Linked DNA regions of Homo sapiens: all the other regions are linked to region 6. Evidence: promoter capture Hi-C in 16 types of primary human blood cells and fetal thymus (Javierre and others, 2016). All regions are on one chromosome and are shown on one strand. Each heading gives the region's core, a stretch centred on a gene start or on the middle of the fragment in contact. The rest is flanking DNA. Distances are from core to core; before and after follow the strand shown. Region 1 holds the start of ICE2 (interactor of little elongation complex ELL subunit 2). Region 2 overlaps ANXA2 (annexin A2). Region 3 holds the start of CCNB2 (cyclin B2). Region 4 has its middle 73 kb from the start of ANXA2. Region 5 overlaps ICE2 (interactor of little elongation complex ELL subunit 2). Region 6 holds the start of BNIP2 (BCL2 interacting protein 2).

What was found. The method cuts DNA at HindIII sites, captures the fragments that hold promoters and counts their contacts. A CHiCAGO score of 5 or more calls a contact.
Region 1: a contact is called between the fragment with the promoter of ICE2 here and the fragment with the promoter of BNIP2 in region 6, in 4 of 17 cell types (M2 macrophages, erythroblasts, M1 macrophages and 1 more). The highest score is 8.2, in M2 macrophages.
Region 2: a fragment that was not itself captured here is called in contact with the fragment with the promoter of BNIP2 in region 6 in 1 of 17 cell types (M2 macrophages); the score reaches 5.5 in M2 macrophages.
Region 3: a contact is called between the fragment with the promoter of CCNB2 here and the fragment with the promoter of BNIP2 in region 6, in 1 of 17 cell types (monocytes). The highest score is 5.7, in monocytes.
Region 4: a fragment that was not itself captured here is called in contact with the fragment with the promoter of BNIP2 in region 6 in 1 of 17 cell types (endothelial precursors); the score reaches 5.2 in endothelial precursors.
Region 5: a fragment that was not itself captured here is called in contact with the fragment with the promoter of BNIP2 in region 6 in 1 of 17 cell types (M2 macrophages); the score reaches 5.3 in M2 macrophages.

Annotation. Positions count from the first base shown.
Region 1 is chr15:60,477,411-60,481,068 of GRCh38, reverse strand. ICE2 (interactor of little elongation complex ELL subunit 2) reads left to right here and starts at 1,927. Exons shown (of 16, transcript NM_024611.6): 1 at 1,927-2,066; 2 at 3,000-3,132. The coding sequence starts at 3,092. RORA-AS1 (RORA antisense RNA 1) reads right to left here and starts at 1,891. Exons shown (of 6, transcript NR_120342.1): 1 at 1,671-1,891. RefSeq lists enhancers at 2,126-2,653, 2,976-3,095. The HindIII fragment of the contact is 13,398 bases long and covers 36-3,658 here.
Region 2 is chr15:60,361,123-60,365,074 of GRCh38, reverse strand. It overlaps ANXA2 (annexin A2), which reads left to right. Exons shown (of 13, transcript NM_004039.3): 4 at 552-646. Among named protein-coding and RNA genes, the nearest start is that of ANXA2, 35 kb to the left of the region's middle. The HindIII fragment of the contact is 225 bases long and covers 1,306-1,530 here.
Region 3 is chr15:59,103,659-59,107,257 of GRCh38, reverse strand. CCNB2 (cyclin B2) reads right to left here and starts at 2,112. Exons shown (of 9, transcript NM_004701.4): 1 at 1,966-2,112. The coding sequence starts at 1,989. RefSeq lists an enhancer at 2,300-2,589. The HindIII fragment of the contact is 2,621 bases long and covers 224-2,844 here.
Region 4 is chr15:60,323,516-60,327,367 of GRCh38, reverse strand. No RefSeq gene overlaps it. Among named protein-coding and RNA genes, the nearest start is that of ANXA2, 73 kb to the left of the region's middle. The HindIII fragment of the contact is 1,656 bases long and covers 451-2,106 here.
Region 5 is chr15:60,422,737-60,426,279 of GRCh38, reverse strand. It overlaps ICE2 (interactor of little elongation complex ELL subunit 2), which reads left to right. Exons shown (of 16, transcript NM_024611.6): 16 at 2,518-3,543. The coding sequence ends at 2,646. Among named protein-coding and RNA genes, the nearest start is that of ANXA2, 27 kb to the right of the region's middle. The HindIII fragment of the contact is 3,596 bases long and covers 1-3,428 here.
Region 6 is chr15:59,688,070-59,691,627 of GRCh38, reverse strand. It overlaps BNIP2 (BCL2 interacting protein 2), which reads left to right and starts at 2,308. Exons shown (of 10, transcript NM_004330.4): 1 at 2,308-2,493. RefSeq lists a silencer at 2,031-2,540 and an enhancer at 1,954-2,602. The HindIII fragment of the contact is 5,510 bases long and covers 1,398-3,558 here.

The DNA of each region.
Region 1 (3,658 bases), core at 678-3,177, 790 kb before region 6:
AGCCAGCCAGTTCTGATTGTGTCATTATGTAAGCTTTTTTGTTTGTTTGTTTCCTAGCATTTTATTTCTTATGCAATAAAGTCAAACTTCCTTAGTCTGGCTTATAAAATCTTACGTGTTCTAGCTTCAACCAGTTTTTCCAACCCCTTTTCCTCTACTACTCTTCAGAGACCTTGCATTCCAGGCAAAATAAACTACCTATGGTTTCCTGTAGCATATTTTTTACATTAACATAATTTCTAACAATATTCTAAATCAGTCTAAAATGTCAGCCAGGGGTAGTGGCTCACACCTGTAATCCCAGCACTTAGGGAGGCCAAGGTGGGCAGATCACTTGAGGTCAAGAGTTAAAGATCACCCTGGCAAACCCCATCTCTACTAAAAAAAAAATACAAAAATTAGCCAAGTGTGGTGGCATGCACTTGTAGTCCCAGCTACTAGGGAGACTGACGCAGGAGAATCGCTTGAACCCAGGTGGCAGAAGTTGCAGTGAGCTGAGATCACACCACTGCACTCCAGTCTGGGAGACTCTGTCTTAAAATAAAATGTAGAACATGCTTCCCTAATAGCACACACTAGATTCTGTTTATGCAATAAGTTTATGCAGTTCCTTGTATTAAAAAAAATTATAGGAGGCCATTGTTTAGAACTTCTGCACTAGACCCCAAGAGACCAGACTAAAATAAAAATGGTATCACTCAGGCTCACCACACCGAAACTGAGTTATGTGGCCCTCCAAGAAATCAGGAGACAGAGGTAACAGGCCAGTTTCAATTTTCAATCAGCAAGATAATGAATTTCCTCTGTTTTAGTCCCTACAGCAAAGAGTAACTTGAAGTAACCTGATGTTAACCAATCAGTTATCTTTCTATTGTACTGTCTGTCTCCACCTTACCAGGAAAGTAACTTTGAAATGATCAATCTGCTTTTTGTTCTTTGTTTCTACTTTCTACAGACCTTTTTTCTGTCCGTAATGCCAACCTCCTCTGTTCCACTCATTGGGACACTCATTCCATTTTATGGAATGAAGTGTTGCCTGATTCCAGAATCGCAATAAGGCCAACTGAGATCTTTAGATGTGTCAAATTTTTGTCTTTTGACACTTGTGCTGGTCTGTCTAGAACGCCCTTTCTCTTCATTCCACATACCCACATTCTTCAAATGAGCTCACACGGCAGGTGCTCAGTGCAGCAACTGACATGTAAGTACTCAATACTATTCAAAACTGCGTTTTGTCCCTCACACTAGCTATTCCTCTCCCTCTAACCTCAATCTATACACCTTTCTTATGTAGTTTATTACTTTCTATTGTATTTAATGTAAATGTCTTAGATTGCCAGAGATCCAAAGCACTGGAAAAATCAGTATTCAGTCTTAGTCCATGTGTACCCAGCACCAAGCACAAAGTACTCTGTTTACGGTCAATAAATCTTTCCGTAATGGATGAGAACAAAACTAGTGTTTGAACTCACAGCTAAAACTGGATGGGGAGTGGAGCGGAGGTGAAGGAGCACTTAATGAGGCCCTACTATGTGCCAGGTACTGTGCAGAGCACAGCTTCTTCCTTTGTTTCATTTAATCCTTTCCAAAAAACCGTATGATGCAGCAGTAACAATTTCATCTCCATTTTACATATGAGGAGTTTGGGTTACGGAAGTCAGGAAACTTGCCTGAGGTCACAACCAAGTATGTTTGGGTCTTTCCAGTACCGCACTTGTCGCTTGTCCGCCTTCCAATTTATCACTCCCCTCCTCTCCCCGACGAAGGTCGAGGACTTTCTAGGAAAACACGCAGTCTCCAACCACTTCCGCCTGGCGAGCCCAGTCTCGCACTTCGCTGCCAGAACCACAGCGAGCGCTTGTGGCGGGAGGAAAGGAGGGGAGCAGCCGTCAAGACGCAAGGCCCCGCCCACTATGTCGCTGAGACGTCATCACGCAGGGCCGAGTCGGCGCGGCCACATCCTTTAAATATGGTCTTTTTTGGGCGCGCGCGACAATGTGAGGAGTGGGGTGGAGCGTGTGTGGTGTGTGGCTGCGGCCTGGGCAAGAGCCGCCGCGGACCATGAGGTGGGCGGAAAGGCTGTGTTGCAGCCCAGACGCGGACGGGAGGGCGCTGCCGGGCCAGCGGGCGTGCTCATGCAGGGGCGGGAGGAGGGAACATGGCGGCCGGGCCAGGACCCTTTGCTCCTGGCTCTGCGCGGCTCCTACCCCTGCTTTGCTTGCCCTTTTACCTGCTTTTCTGGAACCTTGTTTCCCCTCTCTTTGCGTCCCCTTTCCCTCAGCCGTTTCTTTTGCCTTCCTCGACTATTCCCCCCCAGCTCCACACTGGGTCGAAGTGTGAGAGGTAGATTAAGTGGGAGCCGGTCGGGCCCGTTCGGTGTCGAGAGACCGACTCCTAAATTTGATTAGGTTCTCGCAGGTCACTTTATCAGTCTGCCTGGGGTCACAGGAGAAGTACTGAACATGAGAGATCAAGCCTGATTTGTAGTCCTGATGATGTCTGTAAGTGATCTTGTGAAATGTCACTTAAGTTGACCTCAAGTCTTCTCAAATGTGAGGTTCTTTGTGAAAGGCCTAAGATTCCTGATATCGAGGTAGCTTTTGTCATAAAGTGCCTGCCAGAATCTGCCCCATAACAAAGCATGGTCGGGAAAACAAAAGATTTATTTTGGCAGTAAGGGAATGGAAAACTGAGTTGACTTCCCGTTCCATGCCATCAAGTGGCCTAGTATGTAAGCAATGAGAACACCGTTCTGTTTCAGCTCTTATTTCCATAGTGAGTGTCCTGAGAGTAACACTCCCGGCGTAGATTAAATGGAAAAGGGCTCGTCCTGTATCGTCATTGCTGCTCTGCTACAAAGAACCTTGGGTCTGCTGTATTCTGTTTTAGGTGCCACAGTCTGTTGAGGGTAGATGTTTAGGGAGAGATTCTTCCTCACCTAATAGCACCTGGCCTAGCCAATCACTTGCTTTTGATCTTGGCCTTTTGTTTTTACTCAGCTGAGTAAGTTCTGGAGGGATCCTGCCTCTTGGAGCCTTCGCAGCCAGGCAGCTGTGAACTGTGAGCTAGAGTGAAGCAGAAATCTAGGAAGATGAGCTCCAAGATGGTCATAAGTGAACCAGGACTGAATTGGTGAGTTGTAGCCACTTTGTAATCCACTGAAGAGGAGTGTAGTGGGGCTGATGGTTGACATAAGAAAATAGATTTCTGGCATAGAGAGATTTGGAGGAAACAGAAAATACAAGTTTAGGGTCTCAGAATTTACCCTATCCTCATCTTCACATACGGAATGCTAGAGTTATGGCTGACTGTACTTCCACTCCTATAGTGGAACAACACAGTTCAGCACTCAAATTATTTTTAGGTATAATTCCCTCAGGTATTTATTGTTGGTCTCCTGTGAAGGAGAGATACTGGAATTTTCTTGAGTCCAAGAACCTTGGCCCATTTCCATACAAGTAATAAAAAAGACCCTCTTTAAGAATAGACATGCTTTTTGTTATATTGAAATCTATATCAAATGATATAAATGCATAGACTGTATTTTAAAAGTGTATGAGAACTTTGCAAATAGAGAACCTGGTTAAATAATATAGTGGTTTTGTAGCCATCTAGCTAATACATGTGCTGCTTTAGTTCATTTTAACACACATTTACT
Region 2 (3,952 bases), core at 169-2,668, 670 kb before region 6:
TCAATTATGCTATTAAAAATACAACTGCCGTGTTAAATCTGACTCATTTGTCATGACAGTTTTTATAATTATAGAAATTATACCTAGCTGCTTATATAGCCATAATCCTGCAATAAGTATAAATAATTATCTCTATTAATTCAGTTTGCAGTTACTCTCTATTAAATCCCGAGTTAAATGGCAATTTGGGGACCTTCATTTAAAATCCTACTAAATCTCTGTTGTTCCATCTGACTGCCAAAGCCCCACATATGCACCTCCTACTGTTGATTCCAGAAACCAATTTATGAATAAAATAGTTTTTAAACCACAAGTATTTAAAAGGTCCATTTAAGCTTGAGGTTTGAGGCTCTCAAGAAAAAAGGAAAGAGAGTGTACACATTGGGTAGAGGATGCTGACGAAAGAGATAGAACAAATCTTGGTGTCTGGGTATTTCAGTTTGGAAAACAGTATATAAATTTCAGTTTGAAAAAGTCTGCTTGACACCTTCTATGTAAGCCCAAAATACTAGAGTATACTGAGTAACGATTAACAACTTGTATTTCCATAGGTGTGGATGAGGTCACCATTGTCAACATTTTGACCAACCGCAGCAATGCACAGAGACAGGATATTGCCTTCGCCTACCAGAGAAGGACCAAAAAGGTACAGGCAATTCCAGGGATGGAGGGCATTTCTTGTTGAATTTTTGTTTCCTCAGACATTGCTTTTTCTTTTCATGAATTGTGGCTCTCATGCGCAAAAGACTTGTGGGACCCTTGGATATCTAAGATTTTCTTCTTAAATCCTTGTAAGAGTCACTGCACATGTGTGTGTGCGTGTGTGCACGCGCGCGTGCACCTCAGGTCATCAGGCATTAGGTTCTCATAAGGAGTGTACAACATAGATCCCTCGCGTGTGCAGTTCACAGTAGGGTTCGCGCTTCTGTGAGAATCTCATGCCACCGTTGATCTGAGAGGAGGCAGAGCGCAGATGGTCACGCTCGCTTTAGAGTGCTTGGGAGCTCCTGTGTAAGGACAGTACCCTCCCCCAACCCAGGCTACCTGGAGGGAGAGCTTCTGGGAATAGAAAGTTAGGAATAGGGAACAACAACAATAACAACAACAGGCACCATTTATTGAGTGCTTACTTTGGGCCAGGCACTGTGCTCAGTTTTGTACATGTAGCAACTCATTTCATCTTTATGACTTCTGCTGGTTCTTGATAAGATGTTTCTAATTTAATTTTAGGATACTAGCCTCCACTGAGTGTTGATCCTAACAAGCTCCTCTCATTTTAAAAATATACACTTGAATTCTTAAGCTTTTTGCAACGAGTGGGCTTAGTTGTTAGTTCATTTGGTCTGCAAAGCTATCTTCAACATGCCATGCTCCTACTATTTAAAGGGTCTTTGTGTGCTTTTTCCCTTTGCTTGTCCACTAGTGGTTAAGAAACAACCAGTGCGTGTTCGTCCTTTATTTTGTCAGTTGTAGGAAATTTTATTTTTAAGGACGTGCTGCTTTATTTTTAACTTCTTGCTATTAAAAGCTTTTGATTTATTCTTGGACAGTGCAGTAAGTGTGGCTTCCTGCAGCTCCCGTTTGACTTATGGCTTTCACTTGTAGCCACAGTGGAGGTGAGCTGGAAGGATTCTAGAAGAGATATTTCTGCCCTTGGGATTGACATGACCAGCAGGGTCCTGGGAGTTGCAGGTCAAGCCTTGCTACACTTCCATCCCCCGCACTCTAAATGGTTGGAAAGGACATAAATAGGAAAGCATCTGGCTTCTTTCATCTCAAGTGCATTAAAATTCTTCTTTCACTAGAAGTGTATTAATCTTGTGTAGTGAGGCATAGAGGGGAGTGTTTTATTTCTGCAGCTTCCCAAAGGGGTCTGTGAGCTGGTAGAGCCAAGTTCCCAGTGGAGCAGAAGGCTCATCTCTGGATAGCAAGCAAAAAATTTGATCTTTCAGCTGTCACAGAGTATGGTCTTGGAATACATTTGGGTGTGTACACACACACATAGAAGCCTGAAACTTTTTTTTTTTTTTTTTTTTTTTTTTTTTGTGACAGGGTCTTGCTCTGTCACCCAGGCTTGATTGCAGTGGTGTGATTCGGCTTACTGCAACTTCTGCCATGTGGACTCAAATGATTCATCTCAGCCTCCCAAACTGCTGGGATTACAGTCATAAGCCACCACACCCAAAACCTAGATCTTGGTTTTAGATTAGATATATGTAGAACAAAGCTCCCACATACCCTCTAGGAGGGAAGATATTACCAGAATTATGATGAGGTCCCAAGATCTCACAGGCTTTGCTGTGTGCTGGGGACAGCTCATCATCCTACTAATTCTTGACTCTCAGCCTTAGGCCAAGGAGAATTATGTATCTTTTATAAAAGATATGTAAACTACTTGAGATAGTTTCAAGTGAAACAATCGGCTGTTTGTGAAATAAAGAAGAAAATTTGTGAAATAAGGAAGATTTGTGCTGCAGAGTTCTTTAGGGATACGGGCTGCAGCTGCCCAGGTGATGAGCTTGAAGAACCTAGGCCCGGCTGGCAGAGTGGAGAGGAGCTGGGAGAGACAGCTGCTTTTACGACTCTTTCATGTTCTAGCAGACGCCAGATGCGAGGCTTCTCCTTACAGGGAAGGGTTATGTTTGATTTATCATACATTTCTGGAGTTTTTGTTTAGTTTTTGTTAAATGCAAAGCTCTGTGCTGGACATTGTGAGAAACAGGAAGTTGAACGCCCATAAGGAGTTTAGAATAGAAGTGGAAGAAGTCAGTAGGTGCCCAAATGCTATTTGAGGTTTGAATAGAGAATGGGTAGAGGGGAGTGTCAAGGGTAGGCTAAGTTTGGAGTTACCTAACCTCAAAGTTCCAAACTGGGAGACTGGTGTTATAATTGGGAGCTACTGCTTTTACAGTCCCCTCCTAAGTGCCGTGTGTTCCCGGGACATTGGGAAGCAGGAGAAAATGGGTGGTGAAAGCCAGGTGGCTTCTAAGATCCATGTCAGTTCTAACACTTTTGACATCTACGAATGATTCAGCATGGTTGTCTCTGAAGCATGCTGCAAATCACCTCTCGTAGCCTGCAAGTACCTGTAGGGGCTAAGCTTTGTAGATGCCACAGGTGCTCTTAGAAAGCAAGGAAAGAAAGAAGAGAGAGAAGAAAAAAAAAAAAGCGAAAAGAAGAACATTATTTCAGTAGGAGGCTTCAGTCATCAGCCATGATTTGTAGGAAGTTTAGCTCGAGGAAGCATCGCTAAAAGACACATTGAGTTGGGGTGTCTGTCTACATACATGGGTGCTGACCAGACCTCTGACAAATTTTTGTGTTCATGGTGACAGTGGATCCAACCCTTAAGAAATTACATGCAGCAGGGAATTCAAGGGGGCCAGTTCGGGGGTGTTAGTTTCCTATCACTTCCATTAAACACCGTCCGAGTTTGGTGTGGACAAGGAGATATTTTCTCAGTATTAGATGAAGTGTTTTGCATAGGAAAGTTTCATGACCTCACTTCCAACTGTGTTGCGGCCTCTGGTTCCTTCTGGTGACTTTGAGGAGCTGCCGCTGGAATGGCTGCCCCCACGTCTTTTACAGTATATCGGGAGGCCACAAGATCTGCTTGCCAGGAGGCTGTCTGCTCAAACATCTCCTTCTTAGCAGGGGCCTTGATCTCCGAAAGCGTCCTGCCTTCCACGGAGTGTTACTGCTTTCAAGCATATTGCAAAGTGCCTGCACTCTCACAGCTTTCTTAGGAATCACATACGACTCCAGTTTCCTTTTATTGACCGGGGAAGACGGCAAAATTAACTTGGATTTTAAGGAATTTCGTTGAAGCAAAGCCTGATGTTTATGTTTCTGAGATGTGGGTCTGTTGAAGGGAATGCAGTTGAGGGCGTTTGACCCAAGACTCCGGAGTGGTCAAAGACTCACAACCTGCTTCACAAAAAGATCCCTCTTA
Region 3 (3,599 bases), core at 863-3,362, 580 kb after region 6:
TACTCAAATTTAGAATTGCTTTGGGAAAGGACAATACGTCAAGATCTATTTGCAAGATGGAAAAGGTACATTTCAGGAAGTCTAAAAATGCTATTTGTGATTAATAACATCACTCTAAATTAGGCAAATCACCCATCTACTTTATCCGTAATAAAGATCCTCCCACTAACCTTGCAAAGCTATTCTGAGTATTCAAGTGGGCCTGTAAGAGAACTTCAAAGCTTATTAGTATTTAATGATTATTTCTCATATAGTACCCATATCACTTGTTAGAGATCCCTGCAAGTTAAAGGCATATATTTAAAAACCTTCCTTTACAGAGCTTGGTAAAAAGTAAATTAAGATGAAAAATAATAAAGCTATAATATTAATAGTTAATAATAGGTCTGGTTGTTTAAAAACCAGATGTTTAAAACCTAAACTAGCTTTGATTCTTATGCCATTTCACAAATAAGAAATGCTCCTGTATGCATGATCTTTTAGAACTACAGCTTTTTAAAATGAGGTTGCCATAGAATGGATTTTCTCTTATATTAAGGACATTTAGAATGGAAGTAGTTTTCTTGAGTAATATAGTTTTAGCTCCCAAACTCAGGGAAGGTTGGAATTGTATGAAATAAAAATTGTCAGTTGACCTTAACCTGCTTTAGACATAATGTGCTTGGAAATAAAACTTGCTAGGAAAAGCAACTCATACCAAAAAAAGTTTATTATAGAAGTGATAAACATTTCATTAAAAAAGAAAAAAGCAAAAAACCAGCATGTCCTATCCCTGAGAGTTCAGGGTCCCGACTCTAATAAAACTCCCAACAAGGGGTTTGAGTGGATCTACCAGGCAGAGAGAGGGGCCAGGGAAACTCAAGCCTTCCCTGAACAGAAAGGTTTTGACTATTAAATAACGTTATAGAATACATTATTATAAAAAATTACTTGTCAGTTGGACTTAGATCCACAAAAGGATATTAATTAAATGCTAAATGTATTCAATCTATTAGGATTCTCAAAAGTCACACTTCAATTTCTTCCAGCAGCAACTGCCAATCTGAAAAAGTGTTTGAAAATGTAATGCTTATGGGTAGAAGCCTGGTAATGTGACTCAATTTAAATTCATCTGGATAGGAAAATTGGCAGCTTTTATCTAACCTTATAGCCAAGATGATGGAACTCAGGTGTGTCAGGGCCCTCTAGCTTTCGGCAAAGGAAAAAAGTAGGTCCCGGTACAATTCAAGCCCACAGGAAAAATACCCAAAACACCATAACACTTTGATCTCTGCAAGGATGAAATAAATGAATTTGGACCCTTTTCTCTCAGTCTGCCACATTGGTCCAAATTATATTCAAAAACCTCTGTTACATTTGAGTAAAGAAATTAATTTTTTAAGGGGACAAACCCATTTATTAGTGAACGTAGCATGGAAGACTTAGCGTGCCGAAATAAATGGGAAACTCATACAAAAAGAAATGTGAACAATCTGAAAAACAGCCTGGCAGTTGCCTGATGAAACACGCCGTACACTTTACTGCCTACAGAACCCTTCCAGTCCTCCTCCCAGCCGCCATCACAGGTCCCTTAGTTGGCAAGGAGTTGTAAGAAAGGGGGAGGGAAATCCCAGGAACGTGGAAGTAGATAACTCTCTAGCAATGAAGAGCACTCGGGGATCGCTCGCTGAGTACTAGGCCTAGTGCTCTGGGGGCTCACTTGACAGGCGCCATCTCGGAAGCGCTTTCCTACACTTCTCCCACCCCGGGGCAGGGAGGGGTTAGGGGAGGGCGGAATCCAGACGGGGAAAGGCGGGCCGGAGAGGACCGGCCGCAGGGCCAGGGACGCGGGCGAAGCAGTGAGCTCCGGAGAAGAGAAAAGCAGCCCCGGTTGGGACGGAGAAGCTCGGAGCAGATGAGAGAAGCGACAGGGGAGCTGTGGGGCCGACGGACTCGCCTCTGAGAGCGGTCCCCGGGCACACTCACCGTCGGGCGTCGGAGCAGCGCCATGAGGGACGGGGAAGGCAAGAGTGCCAGCCCGGCCCAGGGAGGGACGCGGACTGAAAAGGGAGGACACTAGCGTACGAGGCGCCGTTAGGACTGCTCTCCGAGCCCGCAGCGCTGGGGATCTTCGACGCTGTAGCCTTGTTCCAGGATTCAAATACCGCGTCGCTTGCGCCCCATTGGGCGGCCCTGCGCACGGGTCGCTGTTCTCATTGGCCAACACAAGATGCACTCTCGCACTCTCATTGGCTGAATTTTCTTAGACACGTTTGATTGTCACAACAGCCGGTTGGGGTGTTTTTTCTGCCTACAGTCTTTTAAAAAAAAAAAAACCCCAGTCTCTGAGACAAACAAAAAGGAACTGTCTCATTGGGAAAGCAGACGTAGGACGCCTCTGAATTTTGACAAGGCCTCATCTACGAATTTCTCTCGACGTTTGTAGTGGGTGGGCGGAAGTTGGTTGGCCTTTATTCCTCTTCTGGTGTGTTGGGGTTTAAGTTGTGTTGGCCTGGGTGCAGGAACCGGCCCCTCCGGGTTGCTCAGGGATGCAGTGTGTTAGGTGGTTGAGATGCAAAAGTGTGCTTAAAAAAAGAGAGAATAATGGCGTTTACTCAAAAACCCAAATTCTCAAGTAAGGCAAAAAAAAAAAAAAAAAGATAAAAGAGATTTGTGTGACTGGTGATTCATGTAAGTTCTCCATTGTATTCCCAACACCTAGTACATCGTTTGTCGTATATGGTTGGTGCTCAATAAATGTTCGTCTAATAATCAGCCCAAGCAAAGAATTCATGTCTAAGACCCCAAAAGCAAATGCAACAAAAACAAAAATACATAAATGGGACCTAATTAAACTAAAAAGCTTCTGCACATCAAAAGAAATAATAGACAACCACAGATTAAGAGAAAATATTTGCAAACTATGCATCGGAAAAAGGCCTAGTGTCCAGAATCTAGAAGGAACTCAAATCAGCAAGAAAGAAAATAATGCCATCAAAAAATGGGCAAAGGACATGAATAGATATTTCTCAAAAGATATTCAAATGGCCAACAAATACATGAAAAAATGCTCAACATCACTGATCATCGAAGAAATGCAAGTTAATACCACAAGGAGATACCACCTTACTCCTGCAAGAATGGCCATCATTAAAAAGTCAGAAAAAAAGGCCGGGCGCAGTGGCTCACACCTGTAATCCCAGCACTTTGGGAGGCCTGTTGGGCAGATCATTTGAGCCCAGGTGTTCAAGACCAGCCTGGGCAACATGGCAAAACCCCGTCTCTACAAAAATACAAATATTAGCCGGGTGTAGTGGTGAGCACCTGTAGTCCCAGGTACTGGGAGGGGGGCGGGGGGCGGGGGGCGGGGGGCCGTGTGTTGGGGCAGGAGGATCCCTTGATCCCATGAGTCTGAGGCTGCAGTGAGCCATGATTGTGCCACAGTACTCCAGCCTGGGCAACACATTGAAACCCTGTCTAAAAAAGAAAAAAAACCTCAAAAAACAATAGTCAAAAAACAGTGTAGGCGTGGATGTGGGGAAAAGGGAATGCTTAAACACTGCTGGTAGGAATGTACAACTTCTATGGAAAAAAGTATGGTGATTCCTTAAAGAACAAAA
Region 4 (3,852 bases), core at 29-2,528, 640 kb before region 6:
AAACTGTCCCTCCCATGGCCAGTTGAAGGACACCTGGGGAGAGATGCCACCTCATGAGGTAGACTTTCTCTGTTCCCAGATCAGTAAGGAGCATTGCCTTGCATTTGTGCATAATTTTTGTGTATTTTAAGAGTTCTTGTATATTTAAGAGCTCTCATGAATTCCTGTTTGCTTGAGTGAATGCATTTTAAGGTGTTTCTGGAGAATAGGAGAGGATACAAAATCTAACAAGATACCAAACTTTCAATCCTGAATTGCAACTTGTGTCAACATTGCGCTACTGTGGGTTTGTCAAAACCGCCCTTTAAAAAAAAGTGACTCTAAAGTTGTATTGATGACATTTGACCACAAGAGGACGCTCCAACAAAGCACCTCACAGCTCAAAAGTCTACGTCTCCTTTTCAAACATTTACATGCTGCAATTTCTGCCTGGTCTTATGATATAAAGCTTAATGCCACAAATATTGTTTCAAACTTTATGAAAAGAGTTTTTCTTTTTTTTAAAAAAAGAAGATTGGGAGCTATAGCAGTGAATCCTGAGCTCAAGGTAAACTATTTTCATTAGCTGGAGGTGCTTTATAATTTCTCCATCAGTTTTCAAAAAAGGGACAAGGACTTTAAGAACCTTTTCTTCCTTTAACAATCAAACGAAACAACACAAACTCAAAACGCTTTAAGAACATTTCAATTTCCAAACTAGACCTTTTATGGATCATTTTCCTAAGAGTTCTAAGTCTAGAAATGTGATTAAAGAAAACAAAAACAAACAAACAAACACAAACAAAAAAACATTTTCCAGTCTAGACGCAGCCATCAGCGAAAATGCTCCATTACCTGTTACCTCTTCTAGGATACAGATGTTTGAAAAAGAAAGTGGGCAAGAAGCTATGTGACGGTCTCTGAAGTAAATTAAAGCCCTGGACTGCATTTCCCTAGTAGTCAGATAAAACTTGAGGGCATAATTGCCAACAATGAACACCCTTTCCGTTTAACCAATCTTTACTGATAATAAAATAATTAGAATAATTTATGTGTCTGTGCTATTATTAACGTGGCTTTGCTTAAAGGAGATTCAGCTGGTTGTTCACGGACGTTAAGAGGGTCTCTCCTCCCACCTTCTGAGATGACATGTTTATACCCAGGCAGCACTTCTAAATTTTTAATAGAGAGGAAGAGATTCCATTTAATTAGGTAGAGTGACTTGTTTATATGCAGGTTATACATTTACGAGTTCTCATGAAGAACGGAAAATACCCATTGAGCAGCCTTTGAAGTTTCGCTTGTTTAAAGATAATTGTAAACCCAGCTCAATGGAAACAGCATCTCAGTCAATCAAGTGATTTGAGCATAGAGTAGAGGGAGTTAAATCCAGGTTAAATAATTGCACAAATCACATGTCGATCAATGTTCAAAGGATTTTTTTTCTCTCAAATCAAAGCTCTTCCATCTTACATTTGATTGGAGTATTGAAACTGGGTTATAGAAAAAAATGTTAAGGATGTAACAAGATTTAAAAATGTTAAGGATGTAACAAGATTTTTTTTTACTTAAAAATTATCCACCATTTATATAAAATCCTTTCTCTTTTTTCCTTTTGATTTTTACTTCATATATTCTATATAGCTTATTTTATTTGTGAATTAGGTAACACAAACATGTCACTGTCACAAAAGCATTTTTCTACATTCATAAATCCTTTCTGGAAATGAGAAATCATTTTTTTCTTAAACTCTGACCTAAGGTAAAAATTCCAAATATTTGCGTGCCTTGGATGGTATTGCAAAAAGGCCACCTAAACTAATGAGGTTTCTTGAATTGGTGTACAGAAATGAATTACAATGCTTAAGAAGTTGAAGAGATTTCTCGTGATTTTTAAAGTAATATTAATGATCGTATGGAATGAGAAATTGAGCTTTGTGTTATTACTATAGGATTAGTTTTTAGTTCCTGAAAGCTGGTCTATTTATAGGTATATAGGATGGAATTAAACTCTGAAAAGGTTAATTTTTAAAAAATGTTCTGTAGAAGGTCTATTTCCTATCACCTTTTATAAGTTTCCCTTTGAATTGTAGTTGCAATATGCATTTGGAGTGAGTCCAGGAAGCTTGAATAATAATGTAATCCCCGGGGGAGCCGCTCTTAGCAGAGTGGGTAGGATAAATGAAATGCTACATACAGATTCCTGACAATATATTCATCTTGATATTATCGCAGCTGATGGATTGTAGCAAGGCTGTTCCTAGGGCTTCCCTTTGCCATCTTCAGTGTCTTTATCATTTCAGTGCGAAAAAGAAAAACCCCATCACACAAAAGAAATAAAACATCGTTAATTGAAAAGTAGCACCTTAAAAATATTTGTGGTAGGAAAAATATTTGTTTTGCTGCAAGGAGAACAGAGAGTAGGGAATAAAAGACTAAAGAAGAGAGAAAAAGAAACCAGTGTCCTTTGCTGAGCTCGCTGGCCACATGTAAGGCTCTCAAACATTTTAACCGTTGCACATCATTTTCTTTTTCTTCTGTGTGCTTGTCTAATTTATTTTCATAAGAAAACTCTGTTCCTCTTGTGCGGAGCCAGCATAATGTCGCTGAAATCTCGGATGATGTGGTTTTAAGATCAAACAAGACTTAATAAGGTGGGATTTGTTTTCCTATTGACCTTCTTATTGCTTGGGTCCCCCTGACAAGCTTCGAAGTGAACGGGAGGAATTAGGGTAGCAGCTCTTCAGAGAAACTCATCTTGGCTGGGGCTCCACCTTGAAACGGGAGTGCAAGAGATTGCAAATGGCTCCAAACGAGGGGGCACACACAGACTTGCAAAATGGAAGCGGGTTCTTCCATTGCAGAAAGAAAGAGGGGCACCCAGCAGGATAAACATTCAAAGTGGAAGACACTGCTAGTGGATTTATTTTTATTTTAGGTTCTGACAGATTGGCCAATGTCCTTGATTGGAGTTGGAGTTCATCAGAATGACTAGTTCTGGCCTAATTTAAGAAACAAAACCTCCTAACTTTGTGGGGGCTGCTGGAGAGCAGGGCAGGGCATCATCCATCTAAGAGAAAAACAAAGGAGTTTGGTCCTTTTTTAAAAATGAAAGTTTCCTTAGGAGTCAAAACGGACTGAATTTAAAGGAAATTAAAGTGAGAAAAAGAGTTTTGTGAACAAATGAAACTCTCTTCCAGTAAAAGGAAAGAAGGAGGAGAAAAATGTTTGAAGGTGGGGCGAATGCATTGTTACTAAAAGTAAATAATTCCAGCCCAGTTTTGCAAAAATAGAGAATTGAACCCAACAGCCACTCACGGTCTTATCTGATACCCTAACTGAACTAGAGCGCATTTACAGTTTTTCTTCTATCAGGGTGAATAACACATGTTTCATGTTCTTACAGAACTAGCGTGGCAGCATTTGCCCACCACTGGTAAACAAGAAAAGATGTCTATAGATTCCCCATTATTTTAGGCGGCCACTGGAGTCAGCCCAGGCATTCTGAGCTGCTTCTGCCCATCTTTTAATATTGTCCTTCTGCCTACCTTTTAGTGTTGCAGAAAAGCATGCGGGAGAAACAAACAGAAGGGAGTAGCCAGGACAAGTCAAATTCTGTCGAAGACACTGAGACTCCCTGTGCCGAGAGCTGACTTCTGCAAGCTCTTTGGCAAGGTATTTACGGATGCAATATTTCTGTCAATTCTCCTCCCTTATTTCACTCTTTGTTCCCTTAATGGGCGAATTAGCCTCAGGTTCTTGCTAAATCTATTCCTTTTGGGAAAAGAAAATGATGTACATCGTTATAATCATGCACTACCAGGAGAAATGCCAGTTGGAGCAGAGTGTTCTCTTTCAGGGGTGTTTTTTCCC
Region 5 (3,543 bases), core at 381-2,880, 740 kb before region 6:
TTGCACTGTTATGTTGTAACAGCTGTGACATCACTAGATGATAGAAATTTTTCAGCTCCATTATAATCTTTTGGGACCACTGTTGTATATGTAGTTCATTTTGACCAAAATGTGACTGTATTTGGAAAAGGAGAAATTCCATATGTTCACAATTTGGCCACATAATTACAACAGTTCAATTACATGTGTATCACGGAGTGTGCTTCATGCATTCAGTCCAGGAACAAATACTTAACGAGATTATCCAGGCCCAGGTTGTTGTAGAGCCCAGCATTAGGTACAGTGGACAATTAGATAACTAATAGTTGGTTTGATATATTTTTGAAAGCCAGTGGAAAGTTTTTGGTGATCTACTCACCTCCCCACAATCTAGCCCTGTGTTTGATAGGAATTACCCCATCTTCTTCCCTACCTCCTAGCTAGGCCATGGGATTGGGCCTTCTAGTCCCAACCAATCTAAGTGCAAATATGGATTCTAGTTTTAGCAGCAATGGTAAGATGACAGCTTTCAGGAAACCAGGGAAGTAAGACCTATATGAAATAGAAATCATCTGCATATTTTCATGGTGTAAAAATTTGTTCAAACGTTTCTGCCTCTAATGTGATCCCATAGTCACGAGTCCACTTGAACTCTGATCTCATCCTTGTATAGTGCCTTTGGTACTAACCCTGAGAGATATGCCAGTAGAGCCTGCATCTGCCTCCCTACTGCATCAAGTAGAGATTGTATTTAAGGGTCCCATTTGCTTCCTGGGCTACTTTTGACTTCTGCTTCCAGTCTTTCTTGCAGCAGCTTCACACTTATCCCTTTTTTCTTTCTACATCTTCTGTAATAAACATTTATTTTACACATTCAGACACACACAGTCTTGCAGTGGAGGTTTTCAAAATGCTTGCTTTTCTCAAAAATTTTAACAGATAGAATTAGTGTGGTCAATATACCTTTATAGGAAATACCAGCTGAGTGAGGAGTGGTATAGATCATCCAAAAGTCGCAGCACTTTTCTAATCAGTATATTACAAAATTTCATCAGATTCACACAGACAAATCTGTACTCAATTTGTCCTTTCTGGTCAGGTAAATGTAAATAAAAAAAAATGCTTTTTAAAGGGACAGTAGATATTAAATAAAGGAAGCCAGAGTCCGAGCTTTTTCAGTGAGTCTGTAACCCCTTGGAGCAAATGCCAATAGTATTTCTGTTGGGCTAGCATTATGAGAGAGAGTGCTTGGAGTTACACTATCACCCTTCAGTCCCAGGCCTGAAATTGACTGGACGGGATATGAAGAAATAGAGGAGAACAAGGTGGCCAGGGAAAATAAAGGCAGATATGGGCAGGTTCTGTGGAAATAGTTTCAGGCTATACAGCTTTGGTCCTTCTCTGTGAGATTGGCCTTCTCCATTACTGTTTTTATAGATCACATCTTTAACATGACTACATAGCAAGGGATTCTGTATTAAGAATAGACCACCTTGGCTGGGCGCGGTGGCTCATGCCCATAATCCCAGCACTGTGGGAGGCTGAGGCGGGCAGATCACTTGAGGTCAGGAATTCCAGACCAGCCTAAACATGGTGAAACCCCATCTCTACTAATAATACAAAAGTTAGCCAGGCATGGTGACACACACCTGTAATCCCAGCTGCTCAGGAGTCTGGAGTCAGGAGAATCGCTTGAACCCAGGAGGTGGAGGTTGCAGTGAGCAGAGATCGCGCCAACTGTCCTCCAGCCTGGGTGACAGAGCGAGACTCTGTCTCAAAAGAAAAAAAATAGACCACCTCTCTTTGACTGTGTGAGCTAGAAAGTGAGGGTAAGGAAGGGTAGACTTGAAGGTAGAACCACAGCAAAGTTCCTTCCCCCATCCTCTGTATTCCCCCTTCCAGTTTTTTCTTCCCCTTTTCTTATTTCTTTCTTGCTCTCCTCTTTCAGCCCTTCAGGATTTCCCTGCTACTTGGGTTCTTGTCTTGAAACTTCCTTACACTTTTACTGTTTTTTTTTTACTTCCCTTTTTCTTAATCTTCATCTCTTTCCTCAATTTTCTTTCCTTATCTTCCCTACCCTTCTTATTATCTTTCTTGTTTGTCCATGTAATTTCTTCTCCCTGTTTACCACCTCTGACCTTCTTGTATTTCCTTTCGCTCCCTCCCTATTACTCCTTCCTTTTTCTTGTCCTTCAGTTTAATTATTTCAAACACATCACACATAAGGCCTGTCATTCCCTTGATTTCTAATTTATCTTTTCAACCTCTAATAAATTTAACACAGAGAATAGTTTCCCCATTCACTTTGCTCCCCATCTACTCAGATCTATCAACTTCTCTGATGGTTATTTGAAAGTTTAGTACTTAAAAATGTGTCAGATTAAAACTTGTTTAGAAACAGCCAGCTAGCTGGAGATGAAAAATATATAAGAGCTTATTTGCAAGGTGGTTAATACATGTATAAATACTACAGAGTTGACTGTATATAGGTATGTTGTAGATACATTAAGCTATTCTGTTCTCTGCTTCATCTCTTAGATTGGTGGAACGAGAATGCCTACACGCAGCCACAGGAATCCAGTTTCCATGGAAACCAAAAGCAGTTGCTTGCCTGCTCAGCAAGTTGAAACTGAAGGAGTGGCTCCACATAAAAGAAAAATAACTTGAGGACTGTACCATGGAAAACTAAATTTAAAAAAACAGTTATAACAGTGTTTAATTTAGATAAGTTTGAGGGAAAATAATCAGTAGGCAAGAGGAACATTTTTCCTGTAGTAGCTAGAGTGCCTTGAAAAAATGTGTTGGCTATGTGAAGGAATATTTCAACTAAAATGGAATGGTATGCTTTTCACCCTTGAAGTTTGAGGAGGATCTTGATATGTTTTAACATTATCATGGCAGGGAAATATATAAAGAAGAAAAATATTTTTACATTAAACCTTTTCTAAAAATTGTAAATAGAAAAATAATTTGGTTTTTTATCAAGAACAACACTTATCGTTATGTATTGTGTTAGTTATATTGCCAGTCTGTTGCGACTGACTCAAAAAGTTAAATGTTGCCACTGCTGAAGATGATTATGAGCATCGCAAACTTTGTTTCTGACCCATTTTGACAGTTTTTATATACTCCTTTAAAATGATGAATGTTACAGGTTAATAAAGTTAATACCTTTAAAAACTTGGTGAAATTCCATTACAGAAGCCAAAAATAAAAACTCCCTGCCTCTGAAAAGTCAGATTACTGACTTCTTGTTTGGCAACCATCAGTTTGTTTAATAAAAGAAAAAATTTGGTGGTATAACATGTTTGATGACAGATGCCTCTATCTCTAGATTCAAGCTGAGTGTTGAAATACACTGCTGAAAGCAAAGAGATAGGTATGTTTTCCAGAAAAAAAGTCAGTGTCATTGCTCCAGATGACAAGGTTAATGTGGTAAAGCATAAGCTTTTTTTTTTTTTTGAGATGGAGTCTCGCTCTGTTGCCCAGGCTGGAGTGCAGTGGCATGATCTCAGCTCACCACAACATCCACCTCCTGGATTAAAGCGATTCTCCTGCCTCATC
Region 6 (3,558 bases), core at 1,059-3,558:
GGCTTACTTGTAGTTTGTAATGTTTCAACAATAAGTATGGATAATTAACAAGATAGGGATAAAAAGATAAGTAATAGGATGGCTTACTCGAAACCAAAGCAAACACTGATCAAGCTTATTAAATAATAAAGTTACTAAAATGAAGAAGGAACTGAAGATCTTAAAAAAAAGAAATCACATAACTATATATGATTTCCAGTGATTTTCTGCCACCCTGTGGGGAATTCTGCACATTGCAGAACTGAAGAAGCAAAGTATGAAACTACAAAAACTTCTGTAAATCAAGATGAAATTTCTTGGCCCAAGTAGTTGTTTAGCTAAAGCTCTGTTGATCAGTTTTGTTTTCTCTACTAGCTATTTAGTGAAATTGCTAGACTAGGATAAAAAGAATACCTAATACTTAAATGTGATTACAATATGACAACCAAGGTCCTAATACATATATATGAATTCATCTCACAAAAACCCTATAAGGTAGGTACTATTTTCTTCCCATTTTATCAAAGAGACGGACTTTAATCTACCAATGGTGGGTAAATGTTGCCAAAGCAATGTGAAATCCAGGCAGAATGCTGCATTTTTAGTCAATGATTTAAAATTTTGAGCTTTTCTGTTCCCCTCAGGCCTGATCGTACCCCAATGGAATCACCCAAATACTTGATGCTGAGCCTTTCTATGGATTTATCAGATGAAACTTTGGAAAGGGACTTTTTTTTTTTTTTAAGACAGGGTTTCGCTGTCACCCAGGCTGGAGTGGAGTGGCGCGATCTTGGCTCACTACAACCGCCGCCTGCCAGGCTCCAGAGAGTCTCCCACCTCAGCCTCCCAAGTGGCTGGGACCACAGGTGCATGCCACCAAGCCCACCTAATTTTCTTCTTTTCTTTCTTTCTTCCTTTCTTTCTCTTTGCTTCTTTTTCTTTCTTTCTTTCTCTGTCTCTTTTTTTTTTTTTTTTTTTAAGAGATGGGGTCTCGCCATGTTGCCCTGAGGTCTGGCGATCTACCGACTCGGCCTCTCAAAGTGCTGGGATTACAGTCATGAGCCAGCACGCCCAACTGAGAGAGACTATGATGTTCTCCAAACAAATCTCATTTGGTTGAAACTCTACAGCTGAGTATGGTCTAATTTGAGTAGTTTACCTTGAGTACTCTAACCATGGTCTATAGACCTGGGCTCTTCTGAGAACTGTTTGCAAATGGTTCACAGAGAGAGAGTAGAAAACTCTATGTCAATTTTGCAGGTAATTTTATGGCTGTTAACTCTAACGATAAAAAGTTTTGACTTGGACTTTGTATGTCTTTTCATTTTTCTGTTTTATTAACTTGTCAAAAACTAATTGAAAATTGAAAAAAATAAACCGACCGTTCCCCCAGTGAAGAGAAGCACTGCTGTAAAGCTTTTCACACTCAAATATTACCAAACTCTAAGGTCGCTTCTGAGGCCTAACTCCCCAAAATGATGCCTCGGATATTTTTCCTCGCCTTATTTCTTTTTTTTCTTTTTCTTTTTTTTTTTTTTTCCTTTTTCCTTTTATTTGAGACGGAGTTTTTGCTCTGTTGCCCAAGCTGGAGTGCAATGGCACGATCTCGGCTCACTGCAAACTCCAACTCCGCCTCCGCCTCCGCCCTCGCCTCCTGAGTAGTTGGGATTACAGACGCGCGCCACCACGCCCAGCTAATTTTTGTTTGTTTAGTAGAGACGAGGTGTCACCATGTTGGCCAGGCTGGTCTCGAGCTCTTGACCTCCGGTAATCCACCCGCCTCGCCCTCCCAAAGTGCTGGGATTACAAGCGTAAACCACCGCGCCCGACCTCCTCCCCTTATTTCATCCATTTTATAATTCACATTATTGATCGCTGATAATTGCACCTATTGTAATGATACTGATAATTGCACCTGTTGTAATAATATTGATATTGATAATTGCACCTATTGTATTACAATATTATTATTGATATCGATAATTTCACCTACTGTAATGATCAATAAAGGCAGGCAGAAAGAAAACAAAAGTAACTGAAACTACCAGGCAGCGTCCCTGCGAACAGCAAAGAGGGAAGAAACGCCTTGAGGCGTAGTAACGCCACCAATAAGGAGTCGACGCGACGGGTCCGCCCACAGGCAAGGAAGGCCGACCCCGCGAGTGCAGGCGCGAGCGCTAGCCCGTGACGTCTGAGGGGGTTGGGGGGATGCTGTGTGGGTTTCAAGAAGACGCCACGCCTCCGCCGCCGCCACGCCCCCGCCGCCTCCACCGCCGGCTGCCGCGCCCGGAGGAGGTCGGGATGTTATCACTTCCGCCGGGGCTTCTCACTGTGTCCGGGTCAGCTGCTGCCGCCGACGCCGTACCGCTGCGGCCGGGGGATTGGGCCGGGGTCTCCACCGCCGACCGAGGGGAGCGGGCTCCGCTCGGCCCTGCTTTTTGCGACCTGGCCGTCAGCCCCACGTCGCCGGCCTGGAGGGGCGAAGAGGACGAGGGGGCCAAGGCTTCCTCCGGGGTGAGTGCGGCCTGGGAGAACTCGGCACGGTGGCTCCGGAGCTGGACTGGGAACCGGCCTAGGGGCGAAAGTCTGTCGGGCGCGTGCCCACGACGTCCGGGGAGAGGAAACCCAGAGAGTTACCCTTGGTAGGGGGAGCCATAGAACCTGCTCGGGAGGTGCTTCCTGGATCCCCGCCCTGCTTAGGTCCCCGCCCTTGGCTTGGGTCCTGTTTGTATTTGGCAGTTTGGCCCCCCACCCCGTCGCTTTTCCGTTTCTGGTAGTTGTGCTCGGGATGGAACCTTGCCCCTCCTCCGCTCCCCCACCCTTTTACCCTGGTGTGGGTGAAGTGGCTGGGCTACGATGGTTCAGTATTTATGACCAGCGTCCGTCCTGGTACAGAACAAAGAAACTTGGACTTCTGGTATGCCTCGTAACCGCGGGGAATAGACACGGAAGCAGCATAAGTAATCAGGGCTTTAATAGATCTTCCCTAGTACGCTAAACCAAATACAGAGTGTGTACGTCAAAAGCCGAGTCCCCGCGTGAATCTAGACACAACCCTTTCTGTTTAAATACCTGGCAAAATGGTTTGGATTTCTGGATGCATTTCATGCCGCTGGAGAGTTACTTGTCTGTGTCTTGTGAGCTCTTTGACGAAACAGCTTTTCCGGTGTTGCATCAAGATAGTTACGGTGCCTCCTATTTATTTAATTGAATAAACTATGTGATTGCATTTTAGTGTTGCTTTTTTCATTCTCACCTTCTCTTGATTAGGATCTCTATTTCACCTAATACCTGATTTCGTATTTTCAATTAAATGTAGTTTTTCTAACATTTTATAGGAATCTCTGCAATTGTAGAAACAAATTCTGTAATTTGTAAATGGATGTTTCCTCAAAGTTACAACTGACCTTACCCAATTAAGTTACCCCTGCAGACTAGTTTCTTGATCATTTTGCACATATTCTTAGTTCTTTTTGGTTTACATTTTCTCTAAACTCTATTCCTAGTCTTCATATTCTCTAGTGCAGCCTAATACTGCTGGGCTTAGACCGGAAGTATGACAGATCCACTTCTGCAAAC